2 separate regions of the Homo sapiens genome follow, and region 2 is linked to region 1. The links are contacts of gene promoters, found by promoter capture Hi-C in human tissues and cell types (Jung and others, 2019). All regions are on one chromosome and are shown on one strand. Each heading gives the region's core, a stretch centred on a gene start or on the middle of the fragment in contact. The rest is flanking DNA. Distances are from core to core; before and after follow the strand shown.

Region 1 (5,986 bases), core at 2,021-4,520:
AATCACCCTGAAATTGCCATACTCACATGGCTCAATGTAAGATAATCAATTGATTTACAAACTTGGTCCCTGACATGACTGTGTTATTTGTGATGAGAAATTCCATGCCATTGAAATCACCTTGGAGGGATAAGGTGCTCTGTAACAGCTTGGAGTGAGCGAGACTTTTTAAAGCTCCCTTGAAATATGTCTTCTTTTCGGGTTTTGTGGATCAGATTTTTACCAGTTGCTTCTTGACACAATTCTTTTGTCTACATTATCATTGGAGTGTCTCAGTGCTGAAAACTTGAAAATCCTGAATCTGATACCTTCCTCACACCCACCTGCTTCATAGCATCAGCTATCAACCTCTTACATCGCAAGTGGATCTTAGGCAATGAGGTATTAGCAACTGGTGCCTCATTATGGTAATCCTTGGGTGGAGTCCCACCCTTCTTATAAAAGAAGGATGCTGTTATTTTTACCATGAGTTAGCTTCAATTTCCCAACTTGTTGCACATTTCCACCTAGGTTAAATGTGTGCACTTGCTGTGTTTTCTTACCCATGCTTGCTTTATTAGGGCCTGTTGGAGAACAGGTTTTGCAGACACAGAAACCTGGGTTCAAATTAATGTTCTGACACCCATTATCTGTGTGACCTCAGGAAGCTACTTGTCCTATGCATCTTCACGTATACAGCAGGTAAAATAATGTTGACCTCACAGGTCCTGTATGCAATGAGTATCCCATAGCACCTTAATGTAAAAGTCAGTTGATGGTAAAACAAACAAACAAACAAAGTTGTCACTGATGCTATACACAACAACCAGTGCTGAGACAAAGGAGTAAAATTATAATCTGGTTGCTGTTAAAATTTCTGAACTGTTTTACATCATCACTAACTCAATTCACTTGTTTTTTCTATTCAAAAACAGGGTTTCAAGTCTCAACTTCAATCAGTTTCTCATTCTACTAACATTTTCATCATCCCACAGCATCGGCTTTATCATACTCTATCTCTTAAGAAGAGTTTCCAGGAACTTTTCATTTTAAATCCGCAATATGACATCTCCTCCTCTTTGGCTTTAGGTCCCTAACTCTCCAACTTTATCTTCTACTACTTCAGACCAGCTCTTAGATTTAGTTGGGTCAGAATTCTCACCATTCAGGAATACAGAATTTATCTCAAAATTGTGGTGTTCCATGAGACTTGGTCCCTGTACTCAAGGGGCTCAGAGTATGGACAGAGAGACAGACTGACTATACTAGAAGGTAATAAGGGAGTTGGCTATCTGTGCGAACAAAGCTTTATGGGAAAACAGATGAAGGGGTGATTAATTCAGCCGGGGGTGGGGGTGTGGTGGGTGGAAGTGCTGGAAAAGGCTTCAGAGGGGAAGTTACACTTGAGTCAGTCATTTGAGAATGAGCACAATTTCATTTTGGGCAGAGGGAACAGCATGACCAAAGCCTGAAAGTGAACAGTCCTCATCTAAAGTATTCTAGCAGATGGCAGGAGGGAGGGCTGAAGGTGGAGAGACAACTGATGAAGCTGGCAAGAGCCAGGCTGGGAAGTGCCGTGAGGCTCTATGAAGAAGCCTAAAAGAGCAGCCTTCCTTCTCCTGAATTCCTGGAGCAACTACTCTTTGTGAACTCATTTTGGCCATAATTTTTCATGCGTGTACTTACAAAAAAATCTCTACAAGTGATTTATAGACCTGCCTAGAGAAACAGGGAAAATCCCTGATGTTCATTTGTTTCTCAGCTCTTCCTGTGAAGTGTAATACATGGGACTGGAGAAAACATAGCACAGAGATTAACAGTACAGAAACGAGGTTCGAGTTCCTTCTCTGCTGTTCCCACTGTCCTCACTGCTAACTAGGTGAAATCCAGCAAGTTATGGCACTTCTAAATATCACTTTCTTTCACTGAAAATGGGAATAATGACAGTTTCTATATAATAGGACTCCTAGGATGATTCAATAAGTCCTTAGCAAACATTGCTACCCAATTAATAGAATTAATTGACTACTTACTATGAGGCAGGACCTGTGCTAGATTCCTTTTTTTGGAGGGGGGATGGAATCTCACTCTTTTGCCCAGGCTGGAGTGCAGTGGCGCCATCTCAGCTCACTGCAACCTCTGCCTCCCGGTTTCAAGCGATTCTCCCTCCTCAGCCTCCCAAATAGCTGGGATTACAGGTGCCCACCACCATGCCTGGCTAATTTTTGTGTTTTTAGTAGAGACGGGGTTTCACCATGTTTGCGAGGCTGGTCTTGAACTCCTGACCTCAAGTGATCAGCCCGTCTCGGCCTCCCAAATTGCTGGGATTACAGGCATGAGCCACCGCACCTGGCGAAGGGAGAACTCTTAATGCTTTAACGGATTTTGCAAGTAAAGTCTGGATTAGTCAGGGTAGGTGTGAGGATCAAAGGGGAGCTTCACCCTACTAGCCTTGGCTCCAGTAGTTTATTCAATTACATTCAGCAGCAAGTATTGAACACTAATGATATGTAAAGTACTGTGATATAAAATAGTCCATGTCCTCAAATAATTTATAATCTTGTAGGAAAAATAAGACATACACAAATAAAAATAATGCAAAAACTTTAAGTTCCTTGAGAGAGGGCAACAAAGAATGATTCAAAGGCAAGAGAATCTATCCTATGGGATATATCCAAAAAGGCTTCATTGAAGATGTCAACTTGGGGATAACTTTGAAAGGCAGGATCTTAGAGAGGGAGGAATGTATCATGGAAAGAGGAAATAGAAATGTCTTGGATCAGCCTGTGTCCCCTTTCACTATAAGAGCCTGAAACAATGTGGCTTGTCTGTAATAGACACGTGAATCTCCACTCACGAATTGAGGGACTCCAGTTTGTAATTTATGTCCCCTACAGCCTACCTTTCCTTTTCTGCCCTGTGCTTAACCTAGTACATTGTGATGAAAGGTGGGACCTGGCCAACATAGTTTCTTCCCCCAAAATCGAAACATTCAACTTTAGGTTAAAGGTGGACACTTTCCCTAGTATATCTAATGATGGGCTGAGGCTCAGAGCTTTGCAGCTAAGCTCTGGCCTTATTGACTTAAATCATTTTAATGACACTTTAATATTAAAGAGTCACTGGGCCCAGTGTCTGTGAAATGCTCTCTGTGCCCTGCCTCTGCTAGAGCAGACACTGTGTGCAGGAAAGAAGACAAGAGAATGTAGGACAAGTCCTACTGGCCTTGCAAAGGTCCCACCCCCTAGTCCCTGTGACGCATCCAGTGCAGGTGACATGTTCTCTAAGGTGTGGATAGGCAATTAATTTCATGGAGAGTAGGAGGTGTGGGTTCAGCTGCTGCTTTTTTTTTTTTTTCAGTGAGGCATTATCTGAATGATGCTCATTCTCTCTTGAGTCTGGACTTCGTGCAACAAGCAGCAACTGGATATTATTTTAAAATAAGCATAAGCCACCCAAAGATACTGATCTGGGTCCTTCTTTTGGAAGAAGAGTTGATTGAGAAGTGCCTCTTGGTTAAGGATTAACCACAGGGAAAAATCCAGCAGAAACAGAAGAACTGTGGGTTTCTTACCCCAGCCCTCAAGGAAGCTATGCCGTGAAAGGGGTACTGATACACTGACATACAGCAAGTTGGACGGGGCATCAGTTCTTCATTTGTGGAGTGGAGAAAAGAAGAGGAAATCTCTCATTTGGGGCATTTGAAGGATGGCTTCCCTGTTTCATCAGCTTCAGATCCTGGTCTGGAAAAATTGGCTAGGTGTAAAAAGGCAGCCGGTGAGTTAAAAAAAAGTGTGGGAGTATGGGTCATGGGGCAATACGCCAGGTAATCCTAAAATGTGATCTTAATGAGAAGTGAAAACAGAAGAGTTTAAAGGCATTTTCCAAAGCAGGAAGTAAGATATTTAGAATTCATCCCCCTATCTGTCTTATAGCTAATGGAGCGAGTCTTAACATGCCCCCAAAAGCAGCCTTTTCATTTCAGTAAATTAAAGAGTAAACCAGGACATGCCCTGGGCAAAAAAAAAAGAACATGACTCATTACTGGCTGAACTGGAACGTTGAATTCTGGTTTCAAGCCAAAAGGCTTTCAGAATTTTTCTTAATGTAGTTAAAAATGGGATAGAGGAAAGAAAAGTATTATTTGAAATGTACAATAAATGGGAAGAAATATACTGGAAAACTGAAAGCCATAGAAAGTTTGGTTGAAAGGTAAAATACAGAACAGAAATAGTTTGAAGGCTATTAGTATAGAAAAGCTACTGAGAAATTTTAGTATCTAAAAATCATTTACTGGGAATACCAAACAAGAGTATGTATATGTGCTATGTTTTAAGAATATTATTGAATCACTTAGCTTTACTACTACAATCTATCTTCTCTTGCTCATTGCAACGTCTTTTTTGTACTCTTACATTAATGTTTGCGTTCTAATTACAAAGTTAGCTATTAGATCCTCATCAGATGGCTCCCAGGATGATTGAGAAAGGAATTGGTTTCTGGGAGTTGTTATATATTCAGAAGAATGTTTGAAAATCGGGGAAATCCAAAAAGGTATTCAATATACTTTATTTTAAAGTGGTAATTCCCAGCCTTGAATGAGTAATGTAAATATTATGCAAATAATATGCATCACACAGAAACCAGCACTTTATCTATGCACCTTATCTCGCTCCAGGCTTGCTTGGATTGCCTGACACTTTACTTGAGTGTTTTGATGTGTGTAGTAAGAGGAGGAAGTAGATGTTCATTTACCCTTGTGAATTTTGTGGGTAGGGTTTTAAAATTCTAAGGCATGTGATTGCATGGGTGTGGGGTTTGAATATAAAATTATAAACTCATTCATGTTTTTATTTGTTTTTTAACTGGAAAAAAAAAAGCACAGAAGAAAACCTCCCCATAATTATCATGTGGTTGATTCTGTGTGGCATAAGCAGGGAAAGGATCCTGGGTGTGTGGATGTGGTCATGTGGTCAGAGCATGCGAGTTGGGGCCCCTGCCACTGCTCCTCATGTAACTTAAGTAGCTTAAGACAGTTTCTCTAAGCACTGTTTTTCCCACCATGATGTGGCATGATGAGTTAGACGTGACATGATTAGTTAGATGTGGCATGAAGCCTGCCACATCTAACTCATTGGGGGAAGTACCAAATGTGCTAATGTATTTCAAAGTGCTTTATAATACTGACACACTTAGCAAATAGATTAGTGAGGGATTTGAGGCAATGTGTGTCATATTTTATGCAGATTAATAATGAAAGGAAATTCAGGAGAAGATACTGTGGGTAAAAGGAAGAAATCCACGTACAGTCAAGTTTGTAAGTGATAAAAATTCAATAGCTAAAAACAAAAACACAGAGGAACTAAAATCTGTACGTGTTATTGTCAATAATCTGAATGCTGAGGTCTGTTTCTTTTACAACTCTATTTTGTGTAAAAAAAGTTATAGGAAAAAAAAACACCCAAATCTCAGGTGAAGATGTTTGTTTTTCATTGAGAAATTTTATCTTTAGAAATTTTAATGACAAATTTTTTTCCTCATTTTGAAAGTAGTAGGTATATCAATTTTCTCCTTTGGGGTTTCTCTTCATTTTAGTCAGTGTTTGTGGACATGGTGAAATATTTAGGGGAGATGTAAGTCAGATATTAAAAGTTTTTCAAGCATGACACCTTGCATTATTCCCATCTAGTCAAAACCCCTAAATAAACTCTGGTAACTATACTTTTCCTAGGGAGGGAGAATACATGAGCCATTAGTTCATTTTGGGACAGGGAATGATTCAGATCTTAAGTGCACCTTAAACAAATGGAAACCAGAACAGATAAGTCTTCACGGCAGAGTGAGGTCAGAGAAAGTCCAAAATTTGGGACAATACAGAGGCCAACCTGAATCCATTATAACCAACCAGAGGGACAAGAGAGACCTGTAGAAGATGGTGATGCAAAAGGAAAAGGAAGGACAATTCTGAGTGGAGGGGGAAAGGGCAAAGAAAGAGAAATTTCCTTCA
Region 2 (5,986 bases), core at 980-3,479, 690 kb after region 1:
TTCGCAAAGGAGTCATCACATCTAATCCAAAGACATCAATAACCCTACACCTTAAACACATGAATCAGTGCCCAGTGCCCTGCATCTTGCCCCTATTTCAAACCCTAACACAGAAAGTTGGAGCAGGAGGCTTTCAAAATTTGGACGCAACACTGCCAACTATCTAATTATTTAACAACATGGGAAAGTAACCGAGCTTAGCCTTCCAGAAGGCAGATATATTGCATTAGGGACCTTTCTGCAAAACATATGAAAGTAATGGGTAAAAGGAAGGAAAGACTCGGGGCTGGCTAGTTATCCACCCTGACAAACAGTAGCATTTATGGCTGCTCTTTTCTATCACCTTGTACAAATGAAGCACATGTAAGCAAAATAAGTATGTATGCAGGAACTTCCTATTTCCCCTTTCTCAATTGAGGGGTATCCAACCATAAATATATTTCAAAAGAGGTTTAACATTTCTGATAGATTGATTTGAAGCAGCTCAGAGCTACATTTAAATATCAGAGGTCTCGCTGCAAGGGCTTCCTGCCACTGCCACAGCAATTCTTGGAGGATTTCCCAATCACTGTGTGTCAAAAGAGGTATTGGTTGCAAGTTTCCTTTGTTTGCGTTTTATGCCATATTTCTGACTTATTTTTAAGTCACATAATGTGATATCTAGAATTAACTATTATCTCCTACAATCAATTTTTTCTCCCACTGCTCTGATATCAAGGCACATTTTCTTTGTTTCTTGTCTTCACATTAAATTCTGTTGATTTTACCAAAATGTTTCAAATCACATATTTCATCAATGCTCATGGCTTTGTAACCTCTTAAAAAGTCCAATCAACCCCCTATGCTATGTTATCTGAGATGGACAGAAAAGCTGCTCAATACTTCTAGCCTACCACAGTGTATATCTAGGTATCCACACACATTCAAAAATACTCTCACACTCTCAATCCCTTTCCCTTCTACAATTTTCATAATGAATGCCACTAAACATTTGAGGGAAATAGCTGGGACATCAGGTATTAAACACACCAGTTTAGTTACTTATATTTTCCCAAGGTGGAGCATTTTGGGGTTAATCAGATGACTGAGTCATAAAATATGGCCCCAATTAGTTGGAATGTGGGGAAGAGCAAACCTTGGATGACGGGAACAGCAGGAGGGTCCTGGCCCATAGAGGAGAAGACATCTGGGATAGGTGCCTGTAGGATGACTCAGAGGGCATTGAGTGCTGGGAGAATAGGATGGAAAGGGGTGTTTGCTGATGGTACCTTCTAAGGGAACAGCTGCCCTTTTCACATGTTTTCTCAATGGCTGGTCTAATGATGATAATTAATGTAACTACTAAGTAACACTAGCTCTTGTTTATTAAGCCCTGGTATGTTTCAGGTGTTTTGCAGACATTAACATACTTTATCTTTAGAATTTGATAAATCATTGAGAATGATACTGGGTAATGTATAACATTAATTTTGCACTAAAGCGACCCACACATTACATGAAGTCTGTTCTTAATAAACAGGAGCTTTAGGTATCCATGGTGAGATTATGAAACAGTAAAAGTTCAAGCTAGACTTGGTTTCCCCTGGCAATCCGTCTGTCTTTTCTAGATCATCTGGCTCTGCCTCCTATCAGTTAATATGTGCAGGCTAATCTTAGTGGGAAACAAAACCAAACTTAATTATAAAAGTAATCTTCTGAGAAGCACCTTCCTTCCCACCACCAAAAGCATCCTAGACTCTCCATGTGAAAGTTATTCTGTATGAAATAGAAAACATACATTTCAAAAGGTAATTTAAAATAACTCAAAGAATCAGACTTCTTATTTAATTACAGCTATATTGAAGATACAATATGGGTGTGTGTGGATTCATTTATTCACAAACATATATATTTGCATCTACAATGTGTTGTACATAGTAAGAATACAACTGTGAACAAAATAGATAGAAATCTTTGCTTTCATGGGGTTTACCCCTGTGTCCTGAGGAGGGGAGACCAGTAAGTCAATAGGTAAAGTAGTTGTTTATGTGGCAGTAGGTATGGTGGAGAACAATAAAGCAGCAAAATGGACTCGTCAGTGGTGATTTGGGTTGTTAACTCATAGCTCATAGAACCACATGGGGATCACAGTCCAGGGTTTGAGGGATACCCTGGTGGTTCTGGGCTTCTGGTGGGGTCTGAGACAAGCAGGGAAAAAGGGCATCATGAGATCAGTCCTAAGATTTCCAAGCCAGGCAGTGAGGGTAAGACAGTGACTGCTGGGAAAGGAGGGGTTGGGATCTTTTCAGGACCACCCAGCATCCTTCTTCAACAATGACGTGGAGATGCAAGAGCCCAAGAAGGTTTAGACGGAGGGAATCTGGGACTCTGTGCCCGAGGAATCTGAACATTAGAGTCTCTTGTTCCAGATGTGTAAAACTTCTGAGGAAGATAGAGGGATAACCTTCTAGAGGCCTTCTAGGCTCATCTTGCCTGAACTCTTTTGAAGGCATTTACATTTAAGGATGAAGAACACACCACAGCTTTGTTTTTATTTTTGTCAGCCTGCACAAAGGTTACACAAAACCAGTTCAGGGTATGGTGGTGGGGTGGTAGGGCGCGGTTGGCTCTGGGATTCCAACTCCCTGAAAAGCTTAGGGTATTATATCCCAGTGCTGATGTGAAGTGAAGAAGTGAATGTAACTTCCTAGCATGTCTACATCAGAGAGTAGGTTTAGATGAAGTTAGACTGTGTACCTTAATTTGTGCCTTCAGTGTGAGCAGTTACCACTTGATCTCTGGGTACCTCTGAGAGATACATGGATGTCTGGGCTCTGTGAAGAAGAGCTTGGGGGTCACTGTGGACTGGAGACTCACCACTCCTGAGACTGAGGAGTTGTATTGCACCTTCAATGAGGCTCTCCCGTAGCCAGTGGTTTGAACCTCTCTGGAGAGATATCATTTCTAGGTATTCATGAATCTTGGCAACAGCGAATGCCTTCACTTCCCAGTCAGACCCCACCCCATTTAATTCTGAAACTATATCCAACTCCCAAGGTGATCCCAGTTTCCCAGTTTCTACCATGCACACTTCACAGAGGTAGTTTATTAGAGAGTCTGTCTACAATCCTAGAAATCAGGAATATTCTATAAAAACCGTAAATGAAGAGAGGTTCAAGAATGAGACAGGAACGAGGTTTAAGAATAGTTTTCAGGGATACACTCAGCAGTATGCCTAGCTACTGTTTTTGAGTCCGATTATCTCCAAGATTATATGAATGTTTATGAAAAAAAATTCCATATGTATGTGTTCAACACCCTTCCATCAGTCTCTCAAGCGTCCTGCAGAATGGGGTACTGAACATTAAAGTATTGCATACCACTTGAAGCAGTGCATGCAACTTCCTAATGTGTCTGTTTTCAAGGGAAAAAATGTATGTTTTGTGGGGGGACTGGACTCAACATTTCAAACATTTACTTAGGGAAAAAATAGTCCCCAAGTATTTTCCATATCTTAAGTGAGAAACACAGAAAACATTCAAAATTTTGCACGTTAGCCTTCCTTTCTGCATTTTCTTGAAGACCAGGTAGCCCTAATAATTCTAGAAGCGATATGATTAGCAGGAAATGAACATGGCATTAATTTTTATTGTGTCAACATTGTAAAATAATACTTCTAAAATCTAATTTGCTGATGAATTAAGAGGGAATCCTGTTGGTATAAGAGAATATAAACATAAATATTTTCTTTCATATTTTGGAGGAAGCTTTATGAAAGAAATAGGAAATTATTGTTTGTGGCTCATTAAAATAGCTATTTATAACTATTCTGTTTTGACATCTACTTTATAAGAATATGATAATTCTGACCTTCAGTTGTAGAGATGCAGACTTTGAAACTGCCTTTCATAGGACATGCTTGCATCATGAACTGCTTCAGGGGCTCTGCAGCCAACATATGTGTGCAGCTGCCAGAAAATGTTTCATGTTCAGTGTGTTTGTTTCATGTCTGTTATGCTTATCACTAATTGTCTACCTAAAAAGAAGTGAGAACATATTAAATTAAGGTGGACAATTTGCACCCAATTCTCAAATTTAAAAAGCTGGTTTTTCACGTAGTTTCATAAAAATGTAAATGGATATACTTAAGTGAATATTTTAGCAATTTCCCTAATAGATGCATAAAATGGTCAATGAGGCTTTCTAAATGCTTTGAAAAGAATCTCATAGTTAAAGGTGTTGAAAAGTCAAGTGGTAGAAATTATTAGTTGGTTAATTAGTTGATAGAGTACAAATTTTAATAAGAAGTCATAGTATAATTTCTCATAAGGAACATGCTATTGTTTTTTTTAGTAAAAGAAAAAATTATATCATCTTGGTTATAAATTTTATTTTCTTTTTTAATAGTAATTTTAAATCACAAGGATAATATATACTTGTTGCAGGACATTTAGAAAATACAGGTTTGTCAAAGGAAGAAAATAAAAATTATCTATTAGCATATAAAGTTATCATATCATATAGAGTTAAGCAGTACTAATATTCTGAAGTATTTCCTTCTAGTCTTTTTCCTATACATGTATTTTCTTTTTAGTAAAAATAGGGTCTCTCTATATATGACCTATAAATATGTATATATGTACATACATACATACACACATATATGTACATACATGTATAGTTTCTGGCTCATTAGTTTAATATTGTAAACATATTTGTGAGGGAAATGCTTTTTTTTTCTATAATATTACTTAAAATGCTTTCTTAGTAGTTCATATGGATATACTGTGGTTTCTTTAACCAGTCACTTTATTCTTAAATATTTAGGTTTCAGTTTTTCCAAATTGTTGCTATTATCAAACAACTTTATAACAACTATATCCATATACACCATTTAAAATTCTTCTCTCATTATTTTTGATCAATTTTTTAAAGTGTCATTGCTGCATTAAAGGTCCATACATTTTTACTACCCTTCAGAGAGCATATATCATTTACACTCTTACCAGTAGTGTGTGAGAATGCTTGTTACATTTTACCTTTCCTAAATTAGATGCTATCTTATTTATATTTGTTTATTTTTTTTAACCTAACTACTCAACATGATAGCAATCTTCTTTTAATATATGAAAAAACTTACAGATGAAATTATATGTTACCCATACATTTTTTCTTTTAGAAACTATTTGCTTTTATGTTTAGGAAGAGCTTCCCTATTCTCAGAACAAGTTAATATTTACAGTATTTTCAACATACCGTTATGATTTGATTTTTTAGATTTAGAATTTTAATCCAACTTAAATTTATTTTTATCTTTTTATATAATCGGTAAGGTAGCAATGTAACTTCACTTTCAAAAAATGAACTTTTCTAGACCAATACATCTTTCATCAGATATTTGGATGTCACCTTAATTGTGTACTAAATTGTAATACACACATGGGTTACTTTTTTACTTTCTAGTCACTTCTGTTTATTTCTGTTCCAATAGCACATTGGTTAAAATTACATCTTTATATATTAATACAGCTGGTAGGTTGAATTTTCCAATGCCCCAAATGCATTTTTTCATGTATTTAACATTTTCACAAGAAATGTTTATTTTGTCAACTTATTTAAAAAGTTACATCCCATAGAAAATTGTATAGAATTTCCATTTAATTTATTGTTAGATAACCTAATAAATTTGAGTTTTTACATTTAGAAACCTGGTTTGTTTCCTTATTATTTTTAATAGGTTTTAATAAACTTTGTGGCTTTTGTAAAATATGTATCCCCCCAAATTAATGTTTATTCATTTTCTCTGGAATGTCTTTTGAAGTTTTTGGCCCATTTTAAAGATAGAGTCATTGATCTTTTTAAAACAATCAATTTCTAAGAGCTCTTTCTATATGAGAATTATGGGATAAAGTAGGTATTAAATTTTTTTTCTGATAACTATCCAGTTTCCCAGCACAGTTTGTTCTACAAACCTGCTTTCTCCCATTGATTTGAAGTACAACTTCAT

Evidence for each region. The method cuts DNA at HindIII sites, captures the fragments that hold promoters and counts their contacts. A contact is called where the count stands out against the background at its distance.
Region 2: a contact is called between a fragment that was not itself captured here and the fragment with the promoter of ABCA12 in region 1, in 2 of the 25 tissues and cell types used here (small bowel and spleen).

The regions. Positions count from the first base shown.
Region 1 is chr2:215,135,910-215,141,895 of GRCh38, reverse strand. It overlaps ABCA12 (ATP binding cassette subfamily A member 12), which reads left to right and starts at 3,270. Exons shown (of 53, transcript NM_173076.3): 1 at 3,270-3,756. The coding sequence starts at 3,688. The HindIII fragment of the contact is 12,690 bases long and covers 1-5,986 here.
Region 2 is chr2:214,444,158-214,450,143 of GRCh38, reverse strand. The region is part of intron 3 of VWC2L (von Willebrand factor C domain containing 2 like); the gene reads right to left. Among named protein-coding and RNA genes, the nearest start is that of VWC2L, 36 kb to the right of the region's middle. The HindIII fragment of the contact is 6,694 bases long and covers 1-5,576 here.